Regions from separate parts of the Homo sapiens genome. Here regions 2, 3 and 4 are each linked to region 1. The links are contacts of gene promoters, found by promoter capture Hi-C in human tissues and cell types (Jung and others, 2019). All regions are on one chromosome and are shown on one strand. The core of a region is centred on a gene start or on the middle of the fragment in contact, and the rest is flanking DNA. Distances in the headings are between cores, read along the strand shown.

What was found. Contacts are between HindIII fragments. The study calls those that stand out against the background at their distance.
Region 2: a fragment that was not itself captured here is called in contact with the fragment with the promoter of SEMA6C in region 1 in 1 of the 25 tissues and cell types used here (spleen).
Region 3: a fragment that was not itself captured here is called in contact with the fragment with the promoter of SEMA6C in region 1 in 1 of the 25 tissues and cell types used here (spleen).
Region 4: a contact is called between a fragment that was not itself captured here and the fragment with the promoter of SEMA6C in region 1, in 1 of the 25 tissues and cell types used here (spleen).

What each region holds. Positions count from the first base shown.
Region 1 is chr1:151,144,728-151,150,056 of GRCh38, forward strand. It overlaps SEMA6C (semaphorin 6C), which reads right to left and starts at 1,904. Exons shown (of 19, transcript NM_030913.6): 1 at 1,706-1,904. It also overlaps a transcript of LYSMD1 not described here. RefSeq lists silencers at 1,652-2,111, 2,322-2,381. The HindIII fragment of the contact is 4,441 bases long and covers 403-4,843 here.
Region 2 is chr1:150,708,027-150,713,801 of GRCh38, forward strand. HORMAD1 (HORMA domain containing 1) reads right to left here. Exons shown (of 15, transcript NM_032132.5): 6 at 3,807-3,827; 7 at 3,519-3,545; 8 at 868-935; 9 at 230-381. Among named protein-coding and RNA genes, the nearest start is that of HORMAD1, 10 kb to the right of the region's middle. The HindIII fragment of the contact is 4,564 bases long and covers 1-4,077 here.
Region 3 is chr1:150,686,007-150,691,398 of GRCh38, forward strand. The region is part of intron 2 of GOLPH3L (golgi phosphoprotein 3 like); the gene reads right to left. Among named protein-coding and RNA genes, the nearest start is that of GOLPH3L, 8.5 kb to the right of the region's middle. The HindIII fragment of the contact is 5,683 bases long and covers 1-4,092 here.
Region 4 is chr1:150,821,789-150,827,588 of GRCh38, forward strand. It overlaps ARNT (aryl hydrocarbon receptor nuclear translocator), which reads right to left. Exons shown (of 22, transcript NM_001668.4): 13 at 4,755-4,829; 14 at 1,406-1,557. Among named protein-coding and RNA genes, the nearest start is that of CTSK, 16 kb to the left of the region's middle. RefSeq lists an enhancer at 5,754-5,800. The HindIII fragment of the contact is 6,293 bases long and covers 559-5,800 here.

The sequences.
Region 1 (5,329 bases), core at 654-3,153:
ACCACTCCCATGTTAAGGCCCTCAGAATCCAACAGCCTTCTTAGCAAAAGCGCCTTAGCTAGGGACAATAGAGGCTAATTTGCATCTCATTTACATGCTCTTCATTTCCAGGCAAAATGATCTGATAGCAAGCACCCTCAACCCTTTCCTTCCTCCCTGAGAGAGCAGGCTGTGCCTCCCTTCCACTCAGTCTACACACACACACACTCACACCCCACTTTAGGCTGGATTAGTCCAGCCTCTACAAACACTTGGCTGGCCTTTGCATTGGCCTTCTAGACTCAACTATGATACACCTTTAAGAGGGCTTCTTGTAGCTGTTTCTGGGAAGCAGCATCTGGTCAGCTCCTCAACTCCTGGCCTGGAGAAAAGATCACTCTGCCCTGGAAGAATCCGAGCTGCTTCACACACCCCATCTGAAGCACATGGGAGAGACCTGGCCGACTCTCCCCTTTCCAGATCCTCCCGTTGCTGGGAAGAGGAAACAGCCCTTCTCTCTCCTGGCCCCGAAGCCACCTCTGGGGAATGGCTGGGGTCACAGCCAGAGTCTAGGAGAGCTGTGGAAGGGATGGAGAAGGGGAGACTGGGCTGGGGACAATAGCAGGAAGCCTTTGGGCTGGTCGCCCGCCCCAGTCCACCTTCCTCAGAGGGAGCAGGGTCGCGCCAAGGAGCCTGTGGAACCGGAGCTTTCCTTTCTCCAAGCCATTTCCCCCACTCTTAGCTCTTAGCCCCACACTCAGCACCTACCCTCCTTCCCACCCAACCCCCAACCAGGACAATCCAGGTGTCTAAAGCCTCGAAAAGAGGTGGGCCTAGGGCCAGGGGCTCGACCTGTCTCCCCCTCACCGGATCCGGGGCTCCGAGGAGGGGCCGGTAGCAGAGTCTGGGCCGGGACCGGGTCCCAGAGCCACGTTAGCGAGAGGAGGGGCTGGAGGGGCCTGCAGGCGCAGACGAAGAGGGGATAGGAGCGGGGGTTGGGGAGCGGAGGCGGGTCTCCCAGGCCAGGGAAACAGGGCCAGAGGCTGAGAACCGACGAGGGCGGGCCTGAGGCCGGCGCTCAGTGGGGACCGTGGGCTCAGGAGGCAGTTGCCAGCTCGGATGTCCTCCTTGGGAGACCTCAGTCTAACAAAGCCCCGGGCCGAGCGGGCTGAAGGAAGGAGATAGGCGCTGGGACCGATGTTGCTCGAGGGCCCCATTCGCCGCCTCTTTGCACGAGCCAACCCTTCAGAGGGTGCTCAGATTCCGGCTTGCACAAGGACAGAGGAGCACCCGTGACACAAAGTCCGGAACGATGCGTCCCTCTTCCCATCCCTTCAGGGGCGTCAGGAGGGTCTAGTTCTCCGTGGGTCTCGGAGCCCTAGTTTCCTTGCTGGGAAAGCAAGGGGCCAGGTTTTCCACGCTCTCTACGGAGCGCGCCTCAAATAATCCCTTTTCGCGCTTCCCAGTCCAGCGGGATGCGACTCGACGAAAGCCCAATTGAACGAGGTGCCCAGACTCTGCTCTCACCAGTACAGTTACGGGGCTCGGCCACTGTCCCTCCTTCCTCCCTGCACCCCAATTTCGTTGACCCTCTCCGTCAGCCAGGCACACCGGGCGCCGACACCTCCCTGGTCCCCTAGCGCTTCAGAAGCTTGCCCCCCGCCGGCCGCGCCCTCCTGCTCCCTCCCCGCCTCCCCGCAGCCCCTTCCCTGCCCGGGGTACTTGCTCCAGGATTCGGGTCAGCGGGATCGAGATCGCCGCGGGCGGCCAGCGGCCACGCGCTGCGCTGAGTTCGCAATCCGTGGTTGTGCTCAGGCGAGATGCGATGAGCGTCCGAATTGGATGGTGCTTGAATTTGGGTTCCAGGGCGCTGTCGGGAGAGCCCTGGGTCCAAGTCCAGCCGCGGATCCGCGGAGGAAAACAATGCGACCGCCCGGGGCTCTGGGCTCGGCCCCAGTGGCCCCGCCCGCCTCCCAGCCGGGCCCACCTCCTGCCCGCCTTTGGGTCGCCGCGACTAATCCCGCCCTCGGAGGGCGGCTAGACACCGCCTTCTCGTCACCTCTCCGCCAATAGTGCTGCCCGGGGAGGGGCGCCAGGAGCACCGTCCACCCAGAGGGCCAGGCCGGGAGGCTGAACTGGAGACCAGAGACAGACGCGAGATGGAGAGACCCACGGACAGTCGCCGACACCGGGCAGAGGAAGAAATACATACAGAAGCAGAGACAGGCTGGCACAGGAGAGGCTCTGGGGAGAAATTTCCCAAGAGAGGAAGAGGAGCTGGGAGGAGAAACAGACAGGAAACCTGGGAGCCTCGCGGGGCTGGGCTGGGCTGTCAGAGCCTGCGCGATCCGTCCTCCCTTCCCCTCCTATACGGCTTGGGCGACCTTGCTCCCGAGGGCGCATCCCGCATCTCCCTGACTCTGCCCCCAACTCTCTGTTGCTCCTCTCTATGCGTTGTCCCTCTGTCTCCTTATTTCTCCCCGTAGGCCTCCTCTGGTTCGTCCTGACCCGGATAAGGAGGCCTAGCATGCGCGTGGGGGCTGGAGGCCTGGGAAAGGAAAGGAAGGTGTCAGCAGGAGGTTTCCCTTGTTTCCATGATCTCCTCCCCTCCCACCTCTACAAAGCAGCATGAGTTTGGGCCACTATGGCAAGAACTAGCTAGCAGTCAGGCTGTTGGGTAATGGAAGAGGGCAGGTGAGAGAGGCTGAAGCCAAAACAGATGTGGAAATCAAGACTAACTGACTCAGAGAAAGGCACAAAGAGTAGCAACGCTAAGACTTGATAAAGTAACCCACACAGCCTTCCTGCCCCACAGACATACGTCCCACCTTTCCTCAGAGGACCGTGACATCCCTCCAAACAGCAAAACTGCCCCTTCTCCCTCCCCACCCTTCATAAAGCCCCTGGGAATGTCAGTGAGGAGGAAGAATAAACTACTACAGACAGGATTGCTTGGTACCTTGGTATTGCCTGGTAGGATTCTTCTCTATGTGGGGCTGGGACAAAAGACATTCTCAAAATTCTCCAGGAAAGTGGGTGGCCTGGGAGACACTGGCATTCTCAGATAGTTTTATCTGACTGAACACTTCTACCCACATCTTGGACTCTGGACTAGAGGAAAGGAGGGGGAAGGGGTTTGCCACTTTAGGCCAGCCTTAACTGGACTGTGATCAGGGAGGGGAGTATCAACAACTAGGCTAAGCCCCACAGCGAGTACACAAGAGACCTAAACATACACACACATGTGCACACGCACATACAGAGAAAGAGAGAGACAGAGAGACAGATTTAAGGCCAGGTGAACCAGTAAGATGAACAGTAACTCAGTAAAGTCAGATCTAAAAAAAATAGAAGAAGATAAACAGGGACAATATCTACACAGAATTAACGGCCGAGGGATCTTGGGTCCAAGGCAATTCAACAAACTGTCAGACAGTTGGGGTTGTTTTAAAGGCTGGAAAGAAATTTTCAGAGAAAGACACCTCAAAATACAGAGGCACTGAGAGGTTAAAAGAAATCTCCTCAGCTCCTAGCACAGGGTTTAGGTACTCAGATACATGCTTATGGAATAGATTAGTGAGTGGGGATTAAGGTGTAATTCATTTAAAGTTTTAGGACCCAGCTCAAATCTCAGTTCAATCCAGTAAGTATTAAACACTTACTTGAGACACAATCTACTACACAATCCACTGTGGGTTGTGGTTCCAGACTTTAAGAAAATGATAATATATTTGAATTAAAATAAGATTTGCACATACTAAACTATTAAAAAGTCTAAACTATTAAAAAGACAGTACTAAATATTAAATATTTAATAGTACTAAACTATTAAAAAGACAACACCAAGTCTCAAAAGAAAAGCTACATTGAACATAAATTTCCAAATGTGCAAAGAAGACAATAAATATTCTCCGAAGACTGCACAGAAAGATGCTGGATACATTTTATCATGAAGGACAGGAAAACTTTGGTGGGAGTTGGCTTGGTGCAAAAGAAGAAAATGTTCCCGAGGGACACAGCTTCAGCAAAAGCTTTTACTTGGTTAGCAAGGAGCCTGCAGCATGGATAAAAAAAAGGTCCTGTGAGGCTGGTGTGTGGGAAAGGCACTAGTTAGGAGCAAGGGGAGGGAAAAGGGGAAGACAAATTACAGAAGGCCTGGAATGACTAGGTGAGCTGGTTAAAATCATCTGACAGGAGTAGGACGTCATTTTAAATTCTTGAAAAAGGGTGCAACTTGTATTTTTTTATTTTTTTAAGCAAGAAGACAGAGACCTACTAGCAAGTAAACAAGGTTTAAAGGTGAGGGGAGAGGGACAATCAGACAAGGGTGATGGGAACAGATTTAGAAAGAAATACATGAATCTGAGAGCTATTTTGAAGGACAAATCAAAATGACTCTCTTGGCTGGGCGAGGTGGCTCACCCCTGTAATCCCAGCACTTTGGGAGGCCGAAGTGGGCAGATCACCTGAGGTCAGGAGTTCTGAGACCAGCCTGGCCAACATGGAGAAACTCCAGCTCTGCTAAAAATACAAAAAAAAATTAGCCGGGTGTGGTGATGGGCACCTGCAATCCCAGCTACTCAGGAGGCTGAGGCAGGGGAATTGCTTGAACTCAGGTGACAGGAGATTGCAGTGAGCCAAGATCGTGCCACTGCACTCCAGCCTGGGTGACACAGAGGGAGACTCTTAAAAAAATAAAAATAAAAATAAAAAACCTCTCTTCCTACTCCCTTAGTGTTTTGAAGAAAATCACACAGTCCTGGCCGGGCGCAGTGACTCAGGCCTGTAATCCTAGCACTTTGGGAGGCTGAGGCGGGTGGATTGCCTGAGCTCAGGAGTTCGAGACCAGCCTGGGCAACAACAGTGAAACCCCGTCTCTACTAAAATAAAAAGAATTAGCCGGGCGTGGCGGTGTGCGCCTGTAGTCCCAACTACTGGGGAGGCTGAGGCAGGAGAATTGCTTGAACCCAGGAGGCGGAGCTTGCAGTGAGCCGAGATCGCACCACTGCACTCCAGCCTGGGCAACAGAGCGAGACTCCATCTCAAAAAAAGGAAATCACACAGTCCCACAGATTGGATTGGAAAAGCACTCTCTTCCAATCCCCAGGGAGATATTTCAAACTTCCTCCTTTTTTTGCAAGTTCCTTTCCTTACCATTTCCTTGTTCATCTCAGGAAAACCCTCATCCGTCTTCAGAGAAAACAGAGATAATAAAGTGAGAATTCCACCAACTTTTTGCTCCCTACAGATATACTTACCTGCATCATGTCTCTCTCATCCTAGTGAATGCCATCCGTATCACCTGTCGAAGGTTCACCTATGACTTTACTGTAAGTTGTATGCAGTCCCT
Region 2 (5,775 bases), core at 546-3,045, 440 kb before region 1:
GTTAAATTTGAGTGAGGTTATACTTCACATGGATATGTTCCTATCACTAGAGAAGCATCTATTTTAAAGCTTAATTTTGTAAATCTTTCTTTCTTGAATAGTGATATTAAGTGTAAATTTTATAATTTCAAAAAATTTAGGTGCTAAAAATATTTGGAATGGAAACCAATTGTTTCAATAATGATAAAACATATGTACCAACTGAAACAGGATGTATTGCAAATAGTACCTTCATCATAGTAAAAAAGTTTCATGGTCAAACAAACATCATTAGGTAAAGGCCCCAGATTTTGCATTAGGATATAAATCTTGCGAATGAGGAGAATGCTTGCTTTCTTGGTGTCAGTAGACAACATGCTAGATTCGTTGCTTTGGTTTTTACTAGAAGAGAATCACATATTAATTTATTTTATAAAACCTGTGGCTTCTAATATCATAACTTTACATTTTAACTATTTGAGATTCTTATTTCTATTATAGCATTAAGCTGTTAACTTGAAAGTTACCATGTGTTTTAATGTCACTATTATAAAATTTTAATATTAATATCTGCTAGAAATAATAACTTAATTTTACTTAAGTGCATTTTATATGAAGTGTTTAAAGAAAGCACATTATGTTTTAAAATTATATTTCTATATTTCTAATCACCTAAGTTCTCTTTCCACAATTAAAATTGCTTATTATTAGCCACAGAATCCTGGCTTGAAGCTACTGCAAGCCACCACTCCATTTTGCATAGCCACATCTTGATGGTTAATTGGGGATGTCCCCGCAGTTTCAGAATGAATCCTGAGGTTTAGCTATATAGCATTAATATGAATAAGTGGTAATCTGTAATACAAACAGAAAACTATAGAACAATACCTTATGAAGTCCATGAGTGGTCCATTATTGGTGTATTTGAATTTGAATTGGTAACATTCTGAAATTGTCTTAAATAGAAAATATCGCAGTTATGCTTCTGATATTCAGTACTAGCTGCTAAATAGCTATATTCTGTTTTGTATGACTCAACATTTAGTCAATACTTTTTTCTGCCATATTAATCCCTATTGATCCATTGAAACTTTTGATTCCTCATAGTCAGTTTTCATGGTTTGGGTTTGGGGCTTCAGTCTTGGAGAGACATTTATTTCCCAACTCATTGTAATGTATGTTATTGTAGGGAAAAGAGAGATCAGACTGTTACTGTGTCTATGTAGAAAGGGAAGACATAAGAGACTCCATTTTGAAAAAGACTTGTACTTTAAATAATTGCTTTGCTGAGATGTTGTTAATTTGTAGCTTTGCCCCAGCCACTTTGACCCAACCACTTTGATCCAATCTGGAGCTCACAGAAACATATGTTGTATGAAATCAAGGTTTAAGGGATCTAGGGCTGTGCAGGACGTGCCTTGTTAACAAAATGTTTACAAGCAGTATACTTAGTAAAAGTCATCGCCATTCTCTAGTCTCAATAAACCAGGGGCACAATGCATTGCGGAAAGCCGCAGGGACCTCTGCCCTTGAAAGCGGGGTATTGTCCAAGGTTTCTCCCCATGTGATAGTCTGAAATATGGCCTTGTGGGATGAGAAAGACCTGACCGTCCCCCAGCCCGACACCCATAAAAGGTCTGTGCTGAGGTGGATTAGTAAAAGAGGAAAGCCTCTTGCAGTTGAGATAGAGGAAGGCCACTGTCTCCTGCCTGCCCCTGGGAACTGAATGTCTCGGTATAAAACCCGATTGTACATTTGTTCAATTCTGAGATAGGACAAAAACCGCCCTATGGTGGGAGGCGAGACATGTTTGCAGCAATGCTGCCTTGTTATTCTTTACTCCACTGAGATGTTTGGGTGGTGAGAAACAAATCTGGCTTACGTGTACGTCCAGTCATAGTACCTTCCCTTGAACTTAATTATGACATAGATTCTATTGCTCACATGTTTGTTGCTGACCTTCTCCTTATTATCACCCTGCCCTCCTACTACATTCCTTTTTACTAAAATAATGAAGATAATAATCAATAAAAACTGAGGGAACTCAGAGACCGGCGCCGGTGCAGGTCCTTGGTATGCTGAGCGCCGGTCCCCTGGGCCTACTATTGTTTCTCTATACTTTGTCTCTGTGTCTTATTTCTTTTCTCAGTCTCTCGTCCCACCCGACTAGAAATACCCACAGGTGTGGAGGGGCAGGCCACCCCTTCAGTTATTTATACCACATGGAAGGAACTCCTTAGCAGGCAGATAAGGGAGGCAACATACCTCAGCAGAGTGGCTAACACAGGGCATAAATCTTTGCTATACTGTAACCACAGGCAAGCCACTTAAGCCTTAGTTTAAGTATTAGTTTCCCCAGCTAAAAAAGAGATTAAAGACAGTACATATCTCATTGATAGTTGTGAATAAATATTCACAAATGGGATAATTTATACAGGGTACTTTATAAAGTACCTGACATATAGTAAACATTCAATAAATATTATTATTGTATCAACAAGGTTGCTAATTTACTGATAGAAAAAATGCACAACTATATAACATATGAAAATAAATGAACATTTTCTGAACAATCAATTAGTTTTCTGAACACAATCTATTAATTCACAGCCTTTACCCAAATGATCTGCTTTGTCAGCATGGATACATATTAAGCATTAATCGCAGGTGTGAGTATCAAAGAAAAGACACATTCTCAGCCCTCCTGAAGCCTGAATACTTCTATTGCTTTCTTTATATTTCATTGCTTACATAGTGATGTTTTTAAACGTCTATTTTTAACACCAGTTTAAATCTACCTCTCCTTGACTGAATGAAACGTTATATTGTAACAGCTATAGCGTAATGGGTAAACACCCAAATTGTGAACTGGCCTTCCTAGGTTCAAAAACCTGGTTCTGCCACTTCAGCCACTATGACCTTAGGCAAGAAACCCCTTGTACTTAGATTTCCTCATCTGTAAAGCGGAGATGCTAATAGTGGTTACCTCATGAAGGTTGGGATGAATAAATGAGATAATGCACATAAAGCCCCAAAGAACAGAGCCTAATATAAAGTAAGCACTCAGTAGATCTTTCCCCCTTGTTTCTTATCTTCTGGTTTTCCCTTTCACGTTCTCCCTTCTCTCCTTTAATGGTAAGATAAATAGGTAGCTATGAATGGATTGGGATGAATATTCGAAGTTTAAGGATGACTTTCTTACTTTCCTAAAACTCAAGCCCTTTCATAATTCTAAAATGTAGTATAAAAAATACTATAAAGAATTAGACGTCAGGAGATTTAAGTTAAGTTTCTAACAGTTTGTAAGCTTTGTGGCCTAAGATCAGTCACATAATCTCTGTCATGCTAATCTGTTTAAAGGTAACAATCCAAGCCCTGCCTTACCTCAGAAGAGTTTTATGAAGCTCAAATGTGAAAATATATATGAAAGTATATTGATTAAAGCATAATTAAAAGCATAAGATATTCTTATATTATGTTTCGTGTTATTTTTAGATATTAGAGGCATTATGTTTCTTTAGTAACTCAAGCACACTTACCTGAGGATCTTCTGGGTTTGTGTATACCTATTTAAAAACAATTTACAATTGAGTTATCTAAGGCTAAGTATTCAAGAACTAAATTAGATGTTTAGACTAAACTTCATGTGAACTCAGCAAAACAAACAAATAAAAATGACCACCCAAAATATTACTTTTTCATTCCATTGAATAGATCAGTTATTTGAATAATGTGACATAATCAATTGATAGTTTTAGTGTCATTTAATTAAGCAAGGCCAAATTTGGCAGTATTAAAAAAAGAACACACAATTTAAAAATACTTACAGCTAGAACAACCATCCTTAGCTGAAATACAACAAAGAACAAAAATCTTACTTGTAGTCTATAAAATAATTTTTCATTACGAATCATAAGAATTCTTTGTCCTATTTCAACATGTATTCCTAATAACAAATAATCATTGCAGATCTTGACTGCATAAGATCAATGCCTATAATGCAGTACCTTAGATATGCTTCCCTATCCCCTGAAATATCTATTGCTACTAAAATTACTGATGATTGAAATTCATGTCAGCACTTTATTTCATTGACTTAAGCAAAAAGGACATTACTGCCAGTTACAAGGAAAAAATATATATATTGTGAAATAACACAATATATGTGTTATACTGAAAACAATGAGAACTGATTTTGAAAAAAGAAAAAGCAGAGTTCAGGGCCCTATGAATTCAACAGAGGGAGGAAGTTTTGGAGACCATAGGAAAAGAAAATCATAGAAAATAATTTAATCAAGTGATCTGCCAAAAATCTAAGAGTCATCCTTGATTCTGATCTTTTCCTTGTATTACACAACCAGTCCATCAACAAATCCAATCACTTCTACTGCCAAATCTATCCTGAATCTCCTCTCTCTGCTATCCTGGTCTAAGCAACCATTATTTCTCACCAGTACTACAGTAATGGCCTAGGTGCTATTCTCCTTACTCCCAATCTTAATCTCCTTCTACAGCATATTCTCTAAGTTGTAGGCAAAGTGATTTAAAACAATTATTTTTTAAGACAGAGTATCACTCTGTCACTCAGGCTGGAGTACAGTGGCATGATCTCAGCTTACTGCAATCTCCACCTCCCAGGTTCAAGCGATTCTCCTGCCTCAGCCTCCTGAGTAACTGGGATTACAGGCGCGCCAACACGCCTAGCTCATTTTTGTATTTTTAGTAGAGACAAGGTTTCACCATGTTGGCCAGGCTGGTCTCAAACTCCTAACCTTAGGTGATCCACGTGTCTTGGCCTCCCAAGGTGCTAGGATTACAGGCATGAGCCACCACGCCTGGCCTAAAACAATTTTTAAATGTAAATCAAATATTACATTTCTATGTATAAGCTTTGAATGGCTTTTCTTTGCACCTAAAATAAAAGCCACTGAGTGCTCTGGCCCTGCTTATCTGCCCAGGCTCATCTCATGTTATTCTCCCCCACTGGACAATTGCCCTCAGTCATATTGGCCTTCTTTTTGTTCCTGGAACTCTCTAAACTTCCAATTCTTTGCATTTGCTGCTCTGCCAGGAGTATTCTCTCCTAAAATCAATGCCTGGCTGGTTTCTTCTCATTCAGGTCTCTTCAATGTCACTTCCTCAGAGAAGCTCCTATGACCATCCCATCTAAAGTTACTTCACCTTTCCATTTACCACATACTTTTGCTAAAAATTTTAATGGCAATTTAACATTATTGAAAAGTATATGATTTGTTTTATTAACTACTTGTTTTCCTACTTTACAAGGGACCTTTTTTGTTTTGTTGATCACTGTTAGCTTACCCAGTTCCTACCTAGAAGAGATGCCTAACACATAACGGGCGCTCAATATTTACTACGCCTTAATGGGGAAGATTAGGAACCATGAATAAAAATTAATCTTCTTGAGGCTGAGGCAGGAGAATGGCGTGAACCTGGGAGGCGGAGCTTGCAGTAAGCCGAGATGGTGCCACTGCATTCCAGCCTGAGCGACAGAGCAAGACTCCATCTCAAAAAAAAAAAAATTTCATCTTCTTCACAATTAGCCTAGTGCTGGACTTCATTATGCAAGTTGGTACTAAATTATACTAAGTATGCAAAAAGGATTACAATACATCTTAAAACCTTCTTAATTTTGCTAATTCAGAATTTGTGACAATTTAACCTAGATTATGTGGAAATTTATTTTTGAACCCTAATAAGGAAATAATTTATTAAATTATTAGTATAAACAAGCTTGTAGAAGGCATGTGAAACTAATGAATAAACTATTTGAAA
Region 3 (5,392 bases), core at 1-2,500, 460 kb before region 1:
TGAGATTACAGGTGCGTGCCACCACACCCGGCTAATTTTTGTATTTTTAGTAAAGATGGGGTTTTACCATATTGGCCAGGCTGGTCTTGAATTCCTAACCTCATGATCTGCCTGCCTTGGCCTCCCAAAGTGCTAGGATTACAGGCGTGAGCTACCGCACCCAGCCAGCATGTCCTTTTTAAACTGCAAAGTCAGATATTTGTTTTTGTTTTGTTTTTCCTGTTTTGAGACAGAGTCGTGCTCTGTGGCCCAGGCTGGAGCACAGTGGTGTGATCATAGCTCAATGCAGCTTCGAACTCCTGGGCTCAAGTGATCCTCTCACCTCAACCTCCTGAGTAGCTGGGACTATAGGTTCACGCAGGGCTGTTTTCATTTTTTTGTAGAGATTGGGTCTCATTTTGTTGCCCTGGCTTGTCTTGAACTCCTGGCCTGAAGTAATCCTCCCATTTTGGCCTCCCAAACTGCTGGGAATACAGGCAGTGAAACACCACGCCCAGTTGCAGAGTCAGTTTGAATGTAAATTCCACAATTTATTGCCCAAATGATCATTTAACTTTGACTCCTATAAAGAGAATGATACCTGCCTTGCAGGATTAAACAATAGAAACTGCAAAATGTTTTGAAAATAAATTATACAAACAAAATATGGAGGCAAAAGTGATGAAATGGCTGACAGCAAGTTTATAGGCACAGTGGTTACAGCCAAAATCCCAAATTCAAGTGGGCAGCTTTGTCTCAATATCAATACTAGATATTTTATATTTTGGGAGAGTACTGTGTGCATTTGGGGATTGGAAGAATTAGGGAGAAGATCTTAATGAAATAGCTTAAGCTATATTTTCCTACTATTAAAACAGGTCTTTGGTCTTCCAGTTTATTTCCTTTTATACCAATAGTAAATAGTTATTTGGGGTTAATATGCCTGGATATAATAAAAAACAAAAGTTAATTTTTTTAACAGCTTATGTTTAAAGAAAAAAACCTGACAAACAAGCCCTTCTGATACAGTTGCCCTATTCACAATCGCAGTAGCTACTGGGAGACTTATTGTTCATTTTGCGCGATTAGGAAACTAAAAGGAAAGACCAGGTAGTAACTTAAATTAGACTTTTAATTTTTTTTTTTAAGACAAGGTCTTGTTCTTTGCTCGGCCTGCTATTAATATTTTAATTATAATAAAATGCTTTAGGATTGAGTCACTTTTTAAGGCGGCCAATTTTCTTCATTCATAGCCAATAATCAACAAGTTGGACACTGACTGACTGTGACTGATTTTAAAAACCTTTTTGGGCTGGGCGTGGTGGCTCACATCTGTAATCCCAGCACTTTGGGAGGTCGAGGCAGGCGGATCACCTGAGGTCAGGAGTTCGACACCAGCCTGGCTAACGTGGTAAAACCCCGTTTCTACTAAAAATACAAAAAATTAGCCGGGCGTGGTGGTGCATGCCTGTAATCCCAGCTACTTGGGAGGCTGACACAGGAGAATTGAACGCGGGAGGCAGAGGTTGCGGTGAGCCAAGATCGTGCCACTACACTCTAGCTTAGGTAACAAGAGCGAAACTCTGTCTCAAAAAAAAAACAAAAAAAAACTTTTTGATTAGTGAATTTTTTTTACCAGCTTTAAAGAAGCTTTTACTTCTAATCTCCTATTGCTAATAAAGATGAACTATACTTGATGGAGGATCATCAGCAGCTTGAAAAAGCGTAGCATTAACATACTTTATAATTAAAAATACATATGAATTTCATACGTATAATTCCCATACGTATAGTGGATAACAGTAGATTGTTTGAAAAAAGATAACTGACAAGTACCAGGAGAATTTTAGCAGCACTGTTCATAATGAACTCTTGAATGTGCATTAACCCATAGAATGAATAGTGGTATATTCATGTAATGAAATATTAATCAGGATGAACTGGATTAAACTATATGCAACAACATGGACAAATCTCACAAACATTATATTGATCAAAAGAATACATTAAAATATTAACCCAATAAAATAGAGTTTAAAAACAGGCAAAACTAAAATATATTGTTTAGGGATATACATACATGTCAAAACTACAGGGAAGTGGGCAGCATGTGATTAGGGGCAGGCATAAGAGAAGCCTTCCAGGATGCTGATATTGTTCTATTGGTGATTACATGACTGTTGGCTTTCAAACTACTTGTTAAACTGTATATATGTGCTTTATACAATTTTCTGGATACACTGTATTTCACAATTTTAGAAAACTTAAACAATAAAGCATGTAACTGGATGTTCAGCTCTCATACTTCAGTTTTAAAACACTGGAGTTCATTAAAAGGAGATGGGATGCTTTCAGACATCTGTGGTTATTCCAGTTGCACATCACTGAAATTATTAGGAACATCCAGTTGATGTTCTTTTTTCCTAGAACCTGTCTCTTTACAGACTAACTCACTCTTATTCCAGTTAAGAGTTATTACCTCCTGGCGGGGCGCAGTGGCTCACACCTGTAATCCCAGCACTTTGGGAGGCCAAGGCAGTTGGATCACCTGAGGTCAGGAATTCAAGACCAGCCTGGCCAACATGGTGAAACCCCGTCTCTACAAAAATACAAAAATTAGCCGGGGATGGTGGCAGGTGCATGTAATACCAGCTACTTGGGAGGCTGAGGAAGCAGAATCGCTTGAATCCGGGAGGTGGAGGTTGCAGTGAGCCAAGATCACGCCACTGCTTTGCAGCCTGGGTGACAGAATGAGATTCTATCTCAAACAAACAAACAACAAAAAAAAGAGTTATCACCTCCTGTAAGTCTTTCCCAACATCTCTTCTTCCCTCTCCTACTGCTCCTTCCCACCACCCATCTGATTTACGTGCTTTTCCTCTGTGTTTCCTTCCTACTCAGAACACACTTATACACATATCACATTGTTCTGAAATGGTCTGCTGACTTTCTGGCTTCTACTCCCAGCATCTCCAACCATCCCTATGCCACTAAACCATAAATTGACCTCAAAAGCAGGGACAATTGTTTTTGTTCTCTCTTTCTATGACATATGAGTCATTCAATAAAATTTTTGGTGATTAAACAAATAAGTGAAAATGTATTGCCATATTTCCAATGGATAATACTTCTTGCCAATTTTTACCACAGTGACATGAGAAATATGATGAAAAGCTTTTCTTTCACAGTAAGTAGTAAGTATTCAATAAATGGCATTACTAGGAGAAAGCTTTCCAAGAAAGAGAGGATGGTTGAAAAACATTATCCACAAATTAAATAGATGAGAAATGAAAAGACCACTAGGAGTCAAAAGCAGTAATTGGCTTACTCCCCTTACAGGTAACTTAAGAAACGATTCTAATAAATGAAAAGTTTTATACATTAGCAAGTCAATTAAAACACTGTTCATGAGTTAATAATCTATATCAAAACTCTTACCAAAGGCAATAATAACAAATAAGCAGATTCCTGATTTCAACAGGAGATAAACCTATTTTATTTTGGTCAGGCTTGTGCTCAATGTTTACTTTCTCAGTTGAGGTCAGTGTTATTGAACTGAGATAGTATCTAATTTTAACTGTGCTTGAAAGGTTATACTCTTCAAATTATATTTAAATTTCTTGATTGTTTTCATAAGACAATGATACTTAATATTTAATTTAATTAGTTTATATTTTTTGAGGCAGTCTTACTCTGTCACCCAGGCTAGAGTGCAGTAGTGTGACCTTGGCTCATTGCAGCCTCTGCCTCTTGGGTTCAAGAGATTCTCCCATCAGCATAGCTAGGATTACAGGTGCATGCCACCACACCCAGCTAATTTTTTTTTTCCTTTAGTAGAGATGGGGTTTCACCATGTTGGCCAGGCTGGTCTCGAACTCCTGGCCTCAAGTGATTTGCCCGCCTCAAACCTCCCAAAGTGCTGGGATTATAGATGTGAGCCACTGCGTCTGGCCAGATGCTTAATATTTTAAAACCAGTCTGTGGTAGTTACCCCTCAGAAGAATTTTTTTTTTTCTTTTAAGACAGGGTCTCACTCTGTCACCCAGGTTGGAGTACAGTGGCACAAACACAGCTCACTCCAGCCTTGAACTCCTGGGCTCAAGCAATCCTCTCGCCTCAATCTCCCAAGTAGCTGAAACTGCAGGTATGTGACACCATGCCAGGCTAATTTTTATATTTTTTGTAGAGATGAGGTCTCACTATGTTGCCCAGGTTGGTCTAGAATTCCTGGCCTCAGGCAATCCTTCTGTCTCCCAAAGTGCTGGGATTACAGACAGGAGCCACCGTGCCTGCTTGAAAGACACATAGTTTCTAAAAAAATGATAATACTGGGTTCTAAACAGAGGATCTTAGGGAACTCTCCAGTAAAAGTTTGGGAGTTTGGGACACAAAATTTAACATTTAGGATTTTTTCCTTTTTTGACTTGTCACAAATCCCAAACCATGTAAAAACAAGCAATTATATACACATTAAAACATACTCACAAAGAACATAAAAATGTTATTAAGCCCTTAATTTGGACACAAAAATGAAATGGGCTTTGCTGTTTTCATTAGGCTGATTCTCTTTTCCCTAAAGGAAAGAGTCTAAAAGTCTCTGCCTGGTAACAAAATCTATAATCTGGTCCAAATCGAATTTACTGATTTTGAATCCCATTGTTCTCCACCTACTTCAGTCATACTGGCCTACTCACAGTTATCTCCCAAACTCATCAAGCTCATGATACCTTTGCTCACTCAGGTTCCCTCATCCAGAACGTGTTTCCTTTTCTCCATTCATGTTAATCCTCCCATTTTTAAAGGCATGGCTTGTTTTACTGCCTTTTTCTATTCTTCCCCGGATTACTCTATCTCATGATGGTTTCTCCTCTCTCTAACTCCCTTGGCTCATTCTAACATGCAAAAACTTGCTTTTTATTGTTGTTTACTTTAAAAAAAATATTTTGCATTGTGAAATATAATGTACACACAGAAGAATAAACAAAACAAAGTAAAAAGCTTAATTATTCCAAAGTGAAGATCTATGGCCCAGGTGCAGTGGCTCACGCTTGTAATCCCAGCACTTTGGGAGGCCAAGGCAGGTGGATCACTTGAGATCAGGAGTTCAAGACTAGCCTGGCTAACATGCTGAAAACCCTTCCCTACTAAGAATACAAAAATTAGCCAGGAGGGACAGAGCAAGACTCCGTATCAAAAATAAATAAATAAATAAAAAAGGCCGGGAGCAGTAGTTTACGCCTGTAATCCCAGCACTTTGGGAGGCCACACCTATAATCCCAGCACTTTGGGAGGCCAAGTTGGGTGGGTCGCCTGAGAGGTCAGGAGTTCAAGACCAGCCTGACCAATATGGTGAAACCCCATCTCTACTAAAAATACAAAAATTAGCCAGGCATGGTGGCGGGTGCCTGTAATC
Region 4 (5,800 bases), core at 2,455-4,954, 320 kb before region 1:
TAGGCGTGTGCCACCATGCCCAGCTAATTTTTGTATTTTCTTTTTTTTTTTTTTTTTTTTTTCAGTAGAGACAGGGTTTCACCATGTTGGCCAGGCTGGTCTCGAACTCCTGACCTCAAGTGATCTGCTCAACTTGGTATCCCAACTTGGTATCCCAAAGTGATAAAGTGATGGGATTACAGGTGTGAGCCACTGCACCTGTCCAGCATTTTTACTTTTTATAATAGATTTGTATATGTTGTATGGTAGTAAATGATAAAATAGACTAGAATTTATATATATTTAATACATTCATGTATGACATGGCTAACTTTTTCTAATTTTTTCAATATATCCAGGCTATGTAGCTTATTTTTGGGTTTTTCAAATTGTCACAAATATCAAAAGAATTTTCTAATATATTTACTGAAAAAAATCCATGTATAAGTGGACCTGGATTTTTACCAATTAAAATCTTTGGAATCTTCAGTGTGATAAGTGTCTTTTTGTCTGCTAATGAGTTGACTGAGGGCTGGCAACCCCTAGGTAGCTTCAAGATGGGGGCTCATCTCTGGAAAGATCAAGGTAAAATTAGAGGGCTGGGACTTTTAGCCCTAACCCTCAACCTCATGGAGGGGAGCCGGTACCTAAGGTTAAGTTGATTACCAATGGCCAATGATTTAATCACTCATGGCTACATAATGAAATTTCCATTAAAACCCAAAAGGACTGGGTTTGAGGAGCTTCTTGATAGGTAAACACATGGAGATCCCCGGAGGGTAGCCCACCCAGAAAGGGTCTGAAAGCTCTGCACTCCTTCCTCCTTACCTTGCCCTATCTATCTCTTCATCTGATGTACAAAGTATCCTTTGTAATATCCTTTATAATAAACTGGTAAACATAGGTAAATGTTCCCTGAGCCATTCAAGCAAATTGACTGAACCCAAGTAGGGGGTCATGGGAGACAGCTGGTCAGTCAGATGCACAGGTAAAACAACCTGGGGCTTGCAACTGGCATCAGAAGTGGGAGCAGTCTTGTGGTACTGCATACACAAATTGGGGGATCTGATGCTATCTCCAAGTAGATAGTGAACTGAATTGAATGGAAGGACACCCAGCTGGTGTCCACTACTGATTGCTTGATTTCTTTTTTCTTTTTCTTTTTTTGAAATGGAGTCTCGCTCTGTAGCCCAGGCTGGAGTGCAGTGGCATGATCCCAGCTCACTGCAACCTCCACCTCTCAGGTTCAAGTGATTCTCCTGTCTCAGCCTCCAGAGTAGCTGGGACTACAGGCACATGCCACCACGCCCGGCTAAATTTTTGTGTTGTTGCTTGATTGTTTACCCCCCACATAGGGCATCAGAAGTGTTTTCTGTTGTGAGAACAGAGGAAAAACAGTTTTTTCACACTCCTGTATAATACATACTTCACATTGGTGTTGGTACAGATGATGTACTCAATTTCATCTGAGTAAGGGTTCTGGAAAGTAAAGGAGCTGGTTCTCATCCAGAGCCATTCTTGGTTCTTAGACCGGAACCGGAACATGACAGACAGCACTTGGCCTTTTAATTTCACTACCTGAAAAAGTTTTCATGCCATCAGTGGAACTCATAGAAAATTTTCATTACAAAAATAAATAAAAATTTTCCAATTTCTATAACCCTAAAACTCTTGTCATTGTCCTTGAGGCACCAATATTTTTCAATATTAAAACAAAATGAGAGTAAAAACTAAGTGATTAAACATGGAAGCATATTTCTCATGCTTCCTTTCAGAGACTTAAGCTTTTTTTTTTTTTTTTGAGACGGAGTCTCCCTCTGTCGCCCAGGCTGGAGTGCAGTGGCACGATCTCTGCTCACTGCAACCACCACCCCTCGGGTTCAAGCGATTTTCTTGCCTCAGCCTCCCGAGTGGCTGGGACTACAGGCGCGTGCCACCACGCCCAGCTAATTTTTTGTATTTTTAGTAGAGACGGGGTTTCACCATGTTAGCCAGGATGGTCTTGATCTCCTGACCTTGTGATCCGCCCGCCTCGGCCTCCCAAAGTGCTGGGATTACAAGTGTGAGCCACCGTGCCCAGACTTTTTTTTTTTTGAGACGGAGTCTCGCTCTGTCACCAGGCTAGAGTGCAGTGGCGCAATCTCGGCTCACTACAACCTCCGACTCCCTGGTTCAAGCGATTCTCCTGCCTCAGCCTCCCAAGTAGCTGAGATTATAGGCACGTGCCACCACGCCCAGCTAATTTTTGTATTTTTAGTATAGACGGGGTTTCACCATGTTGGCCAGGATGGTCTCGATTTCCCGACCTCGGGATCCGCCTGCCTCGGCCTCCCAAAGTGCTAGGATTACAGGCGTGAGCCACTGAGCCCGGCCAGAGACTCAAGCTTTCTTATTAGGTTGGTGCAAAAGTAATTGCATTTTTTGCCATTTAAAAAAATGGCAAAAAATCACAATTTCTTTTGCACCAACCTAATACTATTCTAGTCAAATAGGAATAATAACTTATTTCCAGGAAGGAAAAGACTGTTTCCCTACTTCCCTTGGGAAATCCATTAAAGATACTCTGACCTAGCTTTACAAGTCTATACCAGAAATTTGGTAAGTTTAAGGACACAGAATATAGCTTATATATTGCTCTTCAATCCTATTTTTTCCCCGAAACCTGAGAACATCTGTTTTCTTTTCTTTTTCTTTTTTTTTTTTTTTGAGATGGAGTCTCGCTCTGTCGCCAGGCTGGAGTGCAGTGGTGCAATCTTGGCTCACTGCAACCTCGCCTCCAGGGTTCAAGTGATTCTCCTGCCTCAGCCTCCTGAGTAGCTGGGGACTAGAGGCGTGCACCATCACGCCCAGCTAATTTTTGTATTTTTAGTAGAGACGGGTTTTCACCATGTTGGCTAGGCTGGTCTCAAACTCCTGACCTCAAATGATCCGCCTGCCTTGGCCTCCCAAAGTGCTGGGATTATAGGTGTGAGCCACTGCACCCAGATGAGAGCATCTGTTTTCACAGCATCTACAGAGGTTTCCATAAATAAAATTAAGTTGGCTTTAGTCTTGTTTTGCTTTTATTTTTTAAAAGTAATTTTAGTTATTTTATTTTTTATTTTATTTTATTTTTAGACAGTCTTGCTCTATCGCCCAGGCTGGAGTGCAGTGGGGCAATCTTGGGTCACTGCAACCTCTGCCTCCTGGGTTCAAGCAATTCTCATGCCTCAGCCTCCCAAGTAGCTGGGACTACAGGCATGAGCCACCATACCCGGCTAATTTTTGTATTTTTAGTAGAGACAGGGTTTCAAGATGTTGGCCAGGCTGGTTCAAACTCCTGGCTTCAAGTGATCACCTGCCTCAGCCTCCCAAAGTGCTGGGATTACAGGCATGAGCGACCATGCCCAGCCAATTTTAGGTTATTTTAGATACTAGTCTCATGGAATAGAAAATAATCTTTTAACTCTATATTCCTAAAAATTAAAAAAATAAAAATAAACAGTATTAGAAGCTAACCACTTATTTTGTAATACTACGTATCAAATACTGGGTGATGTGTTTTATATTCATTACCTTATTTAATCTTCCCAACAACCGTCTGAATTTAGGTACTATTAATATATTCATTGTATCAATAACGACACTACTGAGACTTAAAGAGGTTAATTAACTTGTCTAATACAAAGTAAAAACCGTTATCAAAAGCCATGTCTATAAAATTCACCAGATATTTTCAGGAGCTGGAGCCTGAGAATGACAATTAACAGTCAGCTTATATAATTCATTACGACTCTCACTCATCCATAAAAGAACAGTCTAGGCTGGGCGCAATGGCTCATGCCTGTAATCCTAGCACCTTGGGAGGCTGAGGTGGGTGGATCACGAGGTCAGGAGATCGAGACCATCCTGGCCAACGTGGTGAAACCCCGCCTCTACTAAAAATACAAAAATTAGCTGGGCGTGGCAGCATGTGCCTATAATCCCAGCTACTCGGGGGGCTGAAACAGGAGAATCGCTTGAACCTAAGAGGCAGAGGTTACAATGAGCTGAGATTGCACACTACACTCCACCCTGGCGACAGAGCTAGACTCCTTCTAAAAAAAAAAAAAAACTATATAAAATGAATTTTTCTACTACAAGCTTAGTGAAGTATACAATTTTCTTTTTTATCTTTTTTTTTTTGAGACAGAGTCTAGCTCTGTCATCCAGGCTAGAGTACAGTGGCATGATCTCAGTTCACAGCAACCTCTGCCTCCCAGGTTCAAGTGATTCTCGTGCCTCAGCCTCCCGAGTACCTGGGATTACAGGCATGCACCACCATACCAGGCTAATTTTTTGTATTTTTAGTAGACATGGGGTTTCACTGTGTTGGCCAGGCTGGGCTTGAACTCCTGGCCTCAAGTGATCCACCTGCCTCAGCCTCCCAGAGTGCTGGGATTATAGGCGTGAGCCACCATGCCCAGACGAGGAAAACATCTATTTTCACAGCATCTACAGAGGTTGGGCGCATGAGCCACCATGCCTGGCGCAATAGTTTAAATACCTTAAAGACAGCTCCTTGGATACAGTTAATTGAATACAAGACAGTAAATAGCCAAAGCCAAACAGAAATACCTTGGGCATTATCCATAATTTCAAAGTATTAGTCCTTTTCTATTCCTTAAAAATGCAGATTAACTACTAAAGAACATAAAACTGTAGTGCCTGCCACAGTGTTCAGTTAATCAGTAGTCAATATTTATGGAGTGAATATGACAAATATTTATTCAGAACCAAACCAGGAAAAAAGTTACCTGTTGGAAGCTGTCTCTTAGAAGCTGCTGGTCTTCAGGATGACAGAATTCTACAATATTCTTTCCTAAGAGTTCCTAGAATACAGAAAGAAGAGTAAGATATATACTTTTTTTTTTTTAAGATGGAGTTTCGCTCTTGTTGCCCAGGCTGGAGTACGATGGCGCGATCTTGGCTCACTGCAACCTCCACCTCCTGAGTTCAAGCAATTTTCCTGTCTCAACCTCCCAAGTAGCTGGGATTACAGGGGTGTGCTACCACACCTGGCTAATTTTGTATTTTTTTAAATAGAGACAGGGTTTCACCATGTTGGTCAGGCTGGTCTCGAACTCCTGACCTCAAGTGATCCACCCGCCTCGGCCTCCCAAAGCGCTGGGATTACAGGTGTGAGCCACCGTGCCCAGCCAACATATATAATTTTATGGTCATCTAACTGGCCTGGTCCATCAGCTGGGGACCTGGATTTTATTTCTTCTGTTTTAATCCTAAGATTATAGTTAAGTGAGGAGGAGAAAAAAAAAAGACAATAAACAAAAGATGAAATCTACTAAAAAAAGGCAGAATCTGTTAAGGAGCTGGCTTCTAAAACATTTTTCTTTCTCAGAATATTATACATTTATTTTAATGAGATTATAAATTTTAGATAAAATTTACATTCATAATTCAGCCATTCTAAGTGTATGATTTGATGATGTCTACTAAATTTATAGTTGTGCAATGATTACCACAATCCAGTTTCAGAACACATTCACTGCCCCAAGATGTTCCCTTGTGCCATCTGCAGTCAATCTCTGCTCCCACTCCAACTCCCCAGCCAACCACAAATCTGCTTTCTGCCTCTCTAGTTCTGCTATTTCTACAAATTTCATATAAATAAAACAACATAATATGTGGTCTTTTGGGTCTGGCTTCTTTCATTGAGCATGGTATTTTTGAAGTTCATCTACATGGCTGCATTATCAGTAGTTTATTCCTTTTTATGCTCAGTAGTATTCTCACATGGATACAACACAGTTGTGTATTCATTTACAAAATGTTAATGGACGTT